2 separate regions of the Homo sapiens genome follow, and region 1 is linked to region 2. Evidence: promoter capture Hi-C in 16 types of primary human blood cells and fetal thymus (Javierre and others, 2016). All regions are on one chromosome and are shown on one strand. The core of a region is centred on a gene start or on the middle of the fragment in contact, and the rest is flanking DNA. Distances in the headings are between cores, read along the strand shown. Region 1 overlaps SERP2 (stress associated endoplasmic reticulum protein family member 2). Region 2 holds the start of SMIM2 (small integral membrane protein 2).

Evidence for each region. The method cuts DNA at HindIII sites, captures the fragments that hold promoters and counts their contacts. A CHiCAGO score of 5 or more calls a contact.
Region 1: a fragment that was not itself captured here is called in contact with the fragment with the promoter of SMIM2 in region 2 in 1 of 17 cell types (total B cells); the score reaches 5.0 in total B cells.

The regions. Positions count from the first base shown.
Region 1 is chr13:44,377,320-44,382,757 of GRCh38, reverse strand. It overlaps SERP2 (stress associated endoplasmic reticulum protein family member 2), which reads right to left. Exons shown (of 3, transcript NM_001010897.3): 2 at 3,045-3,117. Among named protein-coding and RNA genes, the nearest start is that of SERP2, 6.2 kb to the right of the region's middle. The HindIII fragment of the contact is 2,074 bases long and covers 1,753-3,826 here.
Region 2 is chr13:44,158,835-44,163,709 of GRCh38, reverse strand. It overlaps SMIM2 (small integral membrane protein 2), which reads left to right and starts at 2,453. Exons shown (of 3, transcript NR_197392.1): 1 at 2,453-2,565; 2 at 2,779-3,107. RefSeq lists an enhancer at 3,322-4,521. The HindIII fragment of the contact is 6,510 bases long and covers 1-4,368 here.

The DNA of each region.
Region 1 (5,438 bases), core at 1,540-4,039, 220 kb before region 2:
GCTTGAATGAGTTTTGCTTAGAGGCTCAAAGTCAACCTGAAAGAGGTTGTCTCTGATTGTGTTCTGTGGGTTTCTCCAAGTCTAGACTTTTATCAGTGACTTGGAAGAATAATATATTTTCAGGGACCATAACACTGGGAAAAAAGGGTAAGTAGATCAGAGGCTTAAAGTTCAAGGTCTGACAATCTACAGACTGGTCATACAGCCTGAAAACATAGCTAACTTTTTTGTACAGGTTTATTTTCTTGATTTTCCTGTGGTATGATAAAGGCATAGTTTTGTTTGTTTTTATTTTGTTCTTTTTTTTTTTTTTTTTTTTTTGAGACGGAGTCTCGCTCTGTCGCCCAGGCTGGAGTGCAGTGGCACAATCTCGGCTCACTGCAAGCTCCACCTCCCTGGTTCACGCCATTCTCCTGCCTCAGCCTCCTAAGTAGCTGGGACTACAGGCACCTGCCACCAGGTCCGGCTAATTTTTTTGTATTTTTAGTAGAGACGGGGCTTCATCGTGTTAGCCAGGATGGTCTTATCTCCTGACCTCATGATCCGCCCGCCTCGGCCTCCCAAATGCTGGGATTACAGGCGTGAGCCACCGCGCCCAGCCTAAAATTTTAATAGAAGTAATCGTTCTTCTTTGAGAATAAAAAAAAAAGTCATAAAGTTTTATATTAGGTCTCAAAAAAGGTCAACTAGATATCTACAGTATGAGGAATATCTGGCTTTATCCATCCATCCATCCATCCATCCATCCATCCATCCATCCATCCATCCTAAGCACTAACTATGTGCTAAATACTAAACTAGGATCTACAAATTTAATGAAAAATAAACACTGTCTCCCCTGAGCTTATATCCTACTGGAGGGAAATGAACCTAAGTAAGTAAACTAAATAACTGCAACTGCTGATGAGGGTCATGAGTAAAATAAAATAATATGTGATGGAGACAGGAGAGACTTGGGATAAAGGGGTATGTAGATGTGTTTCCGGGGTTGCAGGAAGTTTATCTGAGGAAGAGCTGGGTGGCATCTGGCTGGCCATCAGCTAGACGTGAGTCAAGGATGTGCTGCAACTGTTAAAAAGTAACTGCAAGCCTGGGTCACATTAATAGAGGCAGAGTGGTGAGCAAAATCAAGGGCAGTGACAATCCTACTGCCTCTGTGGTGGTCACACTGCTTCTAGACCACCTTCTGCAGTTGCAAATGCTATACTTTTTTTTTGAGACGCAGTCTCGCTCAGTTGCCCAGGAAGGAGTACAGTGGCACGATCTCGGCTCACTGCAAGCTCCACCTCTGCAGTTCAAGTGATTCTCCTGCCTCAGCCTCCTGAGTAGCTGGGACTACAGGCGCGTGCCACCATGTCCAGCTCATTTTTTGTATTTTTAGTAGAGACAGGGTTTCACCATGTTGGCCAGGATGGTCTCGAACTCCAGACCTTGTGATCCTCCCCACCTCGGCCTCCCAAAGTGCTGGGATTACAGGCGTGAGCCACTGCGCCTGGCTTTTTTTTTTTTTTTTTTTTTTGAGACGGAGTTTCACTCTTGTTGCCCAGGCTGGAGTGCAATGGCGCGATCTCTGGCTCATGGCAACCTCTGCCTTCTGGGTTCAAGTGATTCTCCTGCCTCAGTCTCCCAAGTAGCTGGGATTACAGGCATGCGCTGCCAAATGCTACCCTTTAAGAAAGTCATTGAGCAGATCCAGAAGAGGAGTCTAGAAACCACATCTTATGAGGCAAGGTCGAGAGATTTAGGGAAGCTTAGTTTGCAGAAGGAGCCACCAGGCAGTCATCTTTAAAATATCTGATGATTCAAGGTGCTTAGAGGAGAACGAGTCCATTCTGTGTTACCCTAGGAGTTCAAATCTGAACAACTGAGAAGACAGCATAGTGTAATTCAAAACAGGAGAGACATTTCTAATAGAATTCCAGCAGACATGGAATAGGCTTTTTGAAGAAGTATTCAAATAGGGATTGGGTAAACAGCTGTTTAAAAGATGTCCTTAAAGATACTTCTTTGGGAATAGAGTAGAACTGTCTTTCTTTGAGTGTAAGATTTTCTCATCTTGGAATGCCAAATCATCTTTAAAATATTTGAGCCACAAGCAACAATAATGCCAAGTACTTTGGATCCTTCCTTCCTCCTAAGAGTTTTTGCTTCTTTGGAAGAGTGGTCTCTTGAAGATAAAAGGAACTGATCCATCTTAAATTTTTTTTTTAATTTTCATGATTTTAGGTTTGAATGCATGATTCATCTTTAGTCATGGGCTTCTCTTGTCATTGGGGCAGAGGCTGTCTTGCTGGGAGGCCTAAGCCTGAGCAGGAAGATGTGGACCTTCTGCCTCCCTGCCCTCAGTAACAGTGAGATGCTGGAGGGTGGGAATCCCTCAAGGCATGCTGTGTAGTTAGAAGAAGTGACCTCCACTCACAAGGATTTCTGAGACCCAACATATGGGGATCAGGAACCATGTCAAGGCTAGTTCAGCATGTAACTAGAAACAATGGCACGATGCTTCTGCTCATCTTCCCTGCATTTGTGTGTATGTGTGTATCTGCATGTGTGTAAGTAAAGCTCTCAACTTGCCACCTTACAGTATCAGGTGACCCATACCTTAAGGCTTGGGTCAAAGGCTCAGTTGTATCTAGGAAGTTGTATCTAGGAGCTCTGCAGAACTTTCTCATAAGGCATAAGGCCTCTCCCTTTCTCGGAATGTGGATTTATCACAGGCACACAGGTGTTTCACCTTCTGTTCTAATGCCCTTTTAAGGCTATGTCTGCACAAAAAGACTTTACTGAACTCTACAGTGTATACAGCCACTTTAACTACTCAGTGTAATCATTTTATGATTAGGATTTGATAGTGTATTAATTGTGTCTCTACCTATATTTGGAATAGAAACTAAATCAAAACCCATTAAGATTAAGGCTTAAGGCAGTGATAAACTTGAATCCCATACCAGTATGTTTTTCATCTATTTGCTTTGTGAAGAAAACGTGTGTTTTTCAAAGGCCAGTGGAGAACATGGGATATAAGTTCAGTGAAACACCCATACCTGAGCCACAGACAACAAAAACAAACAGTGCCAACAGCCATGGTCCCACAGGATATTTCTCCTCTTGCGGCCTCTAAAAGGGAATGGGAAAAAGTAAGATTAGGTTCATTGACTCAATAAACAATTATTTGAGTATCACTAGGCATTGTGCTAGGTGCTGGGGATTCTACTGCGAATGAGACAGACTTGGTTTCAATCCCTCAGTGGACAGATATAGATGAATGAAGTCCATTAAAAGGATTGAGACAGGTTTGTAAAAATTCATCCATAACCTTATTAACATCCCTGTAACTCAGTGAACTTGGTGGTCTTAAATATTCTGGGGACAGATATGGTATGAATACATAAACCAATATGGCGATTTAGGAACCAAAATGATATTAATAATAACTTTCCATCTGCTGAGTAATGCTCTGTGCCAGGCACTACACTAGGCAGTCTGCATTCATTATTTCTGGCAAGTATTATTATTTCCATTTTGGAGTTGAGAAACTGAGGCTCAAAGTTTGTTAACTTGAGCAAGAGCTGGGATTCAAATTTAGGTCTGCCTCATTATAAAGCCTGAGTATTTTCCATTAACAGATTCAATATTTAGTTTTTGCATCTGTGAATTCCAAGCAGGATCAGAGAGCACAGACATTTTCTGAAAACCTTTTACATAACCCCAAATTAGGAAGTCAGTACAGTGGAAATCCTTGCAACAACAGAAGCACCACAGCAATTGTGAATGGTTATGAGTGAAGCAGCATTTTGTAATAAAGCTCCTAAGCCTTAATAAAGCTTGCACTTGGGAGAAGTCTCTGAATTCTCTGGGAAGCAGAAGGGGACTGTCAAAACTGCATGAATGAAGCCCTACAGACCTCCTGCTTTTTCAAACCAAAAGCACAGACATAATAAGATCTTCCCTCCACAACACCTCCAGGTCTATGTGCAGGTAGGGCTTGGTCCTTAAACCCAAATCAGTCAGAACAACAAATATTTTCTGAGAGATGCATCAGAAAAGAAGTGAATTTCTCAAATAGAATGGGAGAGTGAAAAAAAAAACAACAACAAAGAACTCACTAATTATTTTCTGATTAGCTTGAAAAATAGGCTGCATTCAACACACGTTAAAGAATTCACATGCAAAACACACAAAGAAAAACGTGTTGGTAGAGTGGAATGTTCACAAGTATTGATTTGTGGTTGATCTCATAAAACCCAATTCCAGATTTCAATTAAATGTTGTTGACATTTAAACATTGTATTCAACATTGTAAAATATGGGCTAAAAGGTATGTTCATATCCATACAAATACCACAGCTTGACATTCAGACTGAAGGTATGTAATAGTGTTTCAAAAAAAACGAGTGGTGCTATCATCAAGGATGTAAGTTTTTGAAATGTTGAACAAGTTTTAGTAATGTTTCTAACAAAAACTTCTTTAAAAAAGGATAATCTTCCTTTGATTTTCACTGTAGTTGCTTTCCTAGAAAATTTATCATATATTAAAACTGTAAAATCTATGATGTGTTGTATTTATATGTAAAATTAAGTTCTAGGCTAATGTAAATGTAAACTGGCTTCTCATCTAAAAAAGGAATTTATTTTATCATAGATAAGGCAACAGTTCTTTAGTTTTCAGCTTACCAAAGAGCCCTTCTCTTTTACCTCACTTGGGTCCACTCGTCACTTGTATGGCCACATACTTTTTCTTGATAGCATGTGTCACAGTTTGTAGGTCTATATTTATTCTTGTGATAATTAATGTGTTTAATATCTGTCTCTCTATGAGACTACAGACCCCACAAGGGCAGGGACTATGTCTTGTTCATGTAGTAATATATAGAAATGCCTGCCACAGAACTTAAACATAGGAGATAATAAACGTTCATCAAAGAACAAATAAACATACAAGTTTCATTAAATAAGATTTCTTAGGTTAGGCAGAGTAAACACAGGTTCTAGGAAGGATATTGTCTTTTTAGTAATAATTCCTAATTGGTGTAGGATTATCCCTGTATCTCTCCTACATGAGAAATATGGATTAAAGTGTCAACGGCAGGTAGACTTTGACTAAGGATTAAGACATTCACTTCTCTGTCCTTGACTAAGCCTGTATCTACCACCACTTACATGCCGGCAAGTCACACTGCAAAGGAATCGGTGGCTGCTCTTAATCAGACGAGGACAAGATCAGTCTTAAATAATTGCATAAGATAACTGTGCCATTTTTTGGCCCTTAAGGCCAGGCCAAGTTCAGATCCGGTAAACAACATTCATAAAGCTACCTGAACAAAGTGTGACATTCGCCCTTCCCACCCTCTTCCACCACCTTCCCAGGAACTTGTCACAGTTGCCCAGAAACCAGTTCTGTTGCTGTTGTGCCACTGATGCTATATAAAAAAATTCAT
Region 2 (4,875 bases), core at 1,204-3,703:
AACCAATAGGATATGTATGTATGTATGTATGTATGTATGCATCTACTATCTACCATCTGTCTATCTATCTATCTATCTATCTATCTATCTATCTATCTATCTAAGAAGGGATTTATTATAGAAATTGGCTCATGCAATTATGGAGTGACAATATGCCACCTGCAAGCTGGAGACCCAAGAAAGCTGATAGTGTAATTCAGTCCAAGACCAAAGGCCTGAGAACCAGCGGGGGAATGCTGCTGGTGTAAACCCTGGAGTCTGAAGGCCTGAGGACAAGGAGCTCTGATGTCCGAGGGCAGAAGATGGATGTCCCAGCTGCGGAAGAGTGGAATCTGAATTGTGGCCCTCAAAGACCCACTGGAGGGCAGACACTGGCAGGCTGTGGGAGAAGCTGAGGATAGGGTGAGTGAAACTCCACACGTGACCTTGGACAAGTGCCTAAACTTTCTGTGCCTCTGTGTGTACATCTGCAAAGTGAAGTGGTGGACTTTGTGAGCCCCAAGGTTCCTCATGCATTCTAGAATTGCAGCACTTTCTGAGGGATTGTAAGAGGAAAGAAGCAGTTACAGAAACACAATTTTGAAATGCTAGGTCTTTGGTATTTGAAGCCAAGGAAATGGCTAGGGGTCTCTGAAAAAAAAATAGTATTATGAATAAGATGGAACCAGACAGCACCCTAAAAGTTTGTGACAAAGGAAGTCTCAATCCTCACATCAGAAGCAAACTTCTCACTGTATACCTTTACATTTTATAAAACATGGTCACATGGAACAATAGCTTGCAGACTGGGAAGCACTTGAACATAATAGTGTTTCATTTGATCCTCGTACACTCTTGGGAGATAGAAAGCATTATTTTTACTCTCTCTATTTTATGAACAAAGAAAATCAGTTTCCAAGTAGTTAAGGTCACAGAGCTGAGTATTGGGCTCTGTTCTTATGGATTTCTGTACCCTCCATAGAGAATGGGGTCAGTGGGGTCTTATCCTTGAGCAGCCGTGTCAGAAGTGGGAGCCCTGGGCATAGAGCCTTAGGGACTTATGGAACATACTGTGTCCTCACTAGGCTGGAGCAGGGACTATGGTTGTGGATGCCATAATTGGTCTGCTTTGGAAAGGGCTTCCTTTATCTCCACCAAAGAGATATCACCAAAGATCTGGGGGCAGCTTGGCCAGTCTATGTGCTGACTCTCTGCTGGAGCTGTCTCCTAATCAGGTCACTGCTAGAGTTCCTCTTCCTAAATGTCCCAGTGCCATGACTTTGGTGCTCTAGCTTGTGGGATTGAATCAATCTAAGAGTCCAGAGTCTATGAGGACTCCTTCTTCTCTATTGTATGCTGCTGTCTGAAGCTAAATGCTATTGTACAAGTTTTGTTGCTGTTTAGATTTTTTTTTGTTCCCAGATTATTGTTCCAAAAATAGACCTACGATATATTCTTATACATTTGAATTTAATTAAGAACCTTTTTCTCAATGACATAAATATGGTTTTACTATTTCCAGCCAGGCCAGACAAAGATGCCTGAAGACAGATTTCTAAATGATGCTATGTGCCAATTTCTCTGATCTTTTTAATATTGTAACTAAGGGGCCTTGCTCTGAGATGGTGGTTTACGATTTTGACATGCTGTCCTGTACCACTCTCTGATCACAAGGGAATACGTAGAAACTCACCAAAGCAACTGCTGTCAGTCATCAAAGTGGAGCCACATTGTCCCTTCTAACCTCATAAGGATCCTTATGGGATTCAGGATGATCACATTTTCAGTGCTCTAAGGACTGTCTCCGTATGACCCCAGCCATACCATGCCCATTACTGATGTATTTGACCTGTTGAGCCTCCAACAGCATTGCAGACTCCACTTTTTGTGTTCCAACAGGACTAAGGCCAGAAGCGAATGTCCTATTTTTTCCTGCCATTTCTCTGCTGAGCAACAGTTCACCCTTGAAGCTGCTGCTGCCTAAAGAACAGGAGAAGATTCAGGAATGCTAACAATAGTTACCTACATATCGCATGCCCTCTGCCCTTGCCCATTGTAAGAGCCTCACCACTTGGATCAGTAAGAGTCCACACTTGCTCAGTACATCTTGGTGCTCACTTCAGCTGTGGGCTCTGATTTAAACATCCAGCTCAGGGGATGCCTCTTTGGTGCATGTCATAATCAGGAGAAGAATGCTGGCTTTGGATTCTGGAACTGACTCCATTTGTAGTGAAGAGTTTGGAGAGCATCAATAATGGGATGGCAACATTCATTCATTCATTTATACCTCTAACCAGTCTTTCCTCACATACTGGTTGAGTACTCAATACGTGCCCTGTGCTTAGCTGAGTACTGTTCAATGGTGAACAAAGAAGACATGGTCTTAACTAGAAGTTCCTATTTCAACAGAGTAGCCCAAGGAACTTCAACCACTTTTGCTACAGGTGTATTAGTTACTGCCAAGAGTCTGTAAGTGTTCATGGGCCTCATTAAGCTCTGCCTTCCTTCTGCTTTTTGGAGCCTGGCCTTTGGTTGGCCTTGAATGAAGAGTGGGGCCCCAAAAGTACCACTGTCAGCACTCTCCAGGTGAGTATTATCCTGGGAGAGGCCAGGGCATGAGGAGGGCCAGGGCGTGGGGCCCTCTGAAGGCTGTGTCATCCCAGGCTTCAGCCACAGAGGTTTTATTACGGAGGAAAGCTGAGCTGTGAGCACGTTGCTAGGCTGTGGCTATTTATTTTTATAAACGAGCCTTGTGCTTAATTTAGAAACCTGCTTTTTCTTTTTCTTTCTTCTTTCCAGCATCATCTGGCTGTCTGGCACCATCAAAGAATTGCATTTCTGACCCAAGAAGAGCTTATGGGTGGATGGGGGTGGGATGGAAGCTGGGGAGAGGATTGATGCCAGCCAGCTGCCTCACAGGGTGCTGGAAACACGTGGCCATGCCATTAGCATCCTGTTCGGCTTCTGGACGAGTTTCATCTGTGACACCTACATAGTCCTCGCTTGGATCAGCAAGATAAAAGGCAGCCCTGATGTTAGTGCCTCCTCTGATGAGCCATACGCCAGAATCCAGCAGAGCAGAAGGCAATGCCACGCAGAAGAGGACCAAAGTCAGGTGCCAGAAGCAGGTGACATCTCCACTCTCAGTTCTTTGGAGGCAGCTATTTTAATAGAACCACTTTACTGCAGCTATTTTGACATGAGGATATTTTGGTATGGCTCAAAGATTCAGCCGATAAATGTTCAGCTTTTTAAAAAATAAATGATGAGTAAAATAGGCATCTTGCAGGCCATCTGTGAGCTTCACCTCAACCTTGATCTTCACCTCCCCCCCTCCATTGTCAATCTTACCTCCAGGCATCAAGGGTGTATGGATTGGTAACAGATGAAGGAAAGGACTGGTAGAGGTTCAAAATGAAAGAAATAGCAGGTCAGGACTCCAGGAGGGTTGAGGGTCTTTTAAAGTAAAACAAAACAAACAAACAAACAAAAAAACAGGGTCAACCAAATTCAGAAGTCAGGTAGAAGTCAGAGAAGGAATGAAAGATGGGAAACTGGTTATAAACCAAATACAGCGAGTCTGAATTTTGGCTTGTTTTGAGGCTGCTGTATCAAAACAGTTGTGTTGGAAGAGCTGCATGAAATTGTTGGGCAAGAAATAGTCCACTCATGATTCAGATAAGCTCATTTTGCCTCTTCCATGGTCGATTTCTGACTCATAAATGTCTATACATTTCACTTTACGGCTTATGTGAGCCTCAGTTTCCCCACATAAAATGCAGATGATGATGTTGGCCCTTCCTCTTTCCCCACCTTTTGCTCTCCTTCCAAGTGGCATGATGAGGAATGAGCCAGCATCTTGTAAACTGCTCCAGGCCACCTGGAGAAATGTGCTTGCGTAAATAGTCGGCATTAGTATACGTGAGTCTTCCATGAGTAAAGAATTTCAGAGTTGGCAGCCGTCTCTGCCTGGTGATTCATGTGGGCACGATGATGCCCTTAGCTACAATGTATGGTGTGGGTGATGAATTTGTTCTTGTCACAGCAGAGGACTGAGTATTCTTTACCCAAATGCTATAGATTGAGTTTGCACATGGGAACTAGATTAGCTCTGAAGAGAGTTGAAAGGAACCTGACATTTCTGCCTACAATCTAGAGTTTCATTGTACAAACAACCGCAGCAGCACATTTGTGCCCAACCATTGGCTCCCTTTGCCAGCAAAGAAAATCTTCTAAATTCTTCTGCCATTTGTCAAACCTGCCAAAGTCCCTGGAGGCAGTTCTGGTATAATTGAAGGTGGAGAAAGATAATATTCTCTCTACCAGGTTTCACTACTTCCTGTGTTGGTTGTTCACAAGGGGAGAGCTTCTGCATCACAGGATGAAGCTTCGGTGATTTAGATGTGGAATATCCTTCCAGGATTAGGGCAAGGAGGCCCCAGCTTCCAGAACCCTGTCCTGCAGCCTCCGCGTGGCTGGGCAGCGGCCTTCCTTTGAGCCTTCAGGGTGGAAACGAAGGACACGTGCGTCTCTGCAGCACTTCCGGCTTTCGCTCAATCCTATTTTCAGAGCCAAAGCGCCATCTCCTCTGGTACAGTTAATCTTTGTTCCTGCCACTGACCCTTCTATCTTTATTACTTTTCACCACGTCCTGGCCTTCAGATTTCTTATGGATTTGTCTCTCAGGCGTTGTGTTTTGATTCCCTCCTCACATTTACTTCCAAGTGCCAAGAACAACTTTGTTCCGGCAGAAGGATATTATTTGGCTTAAAAAGAAGAATGAGCAGTGGCTTCTCTCCATCAGCATTCTTTAGGTTTACGTGGGAATTCATTCTGGGAACCATTTAGAGTCTCCTTCAAGCCTCTCCCTGACCGACAAAGTTTCTGTCCCAGAGA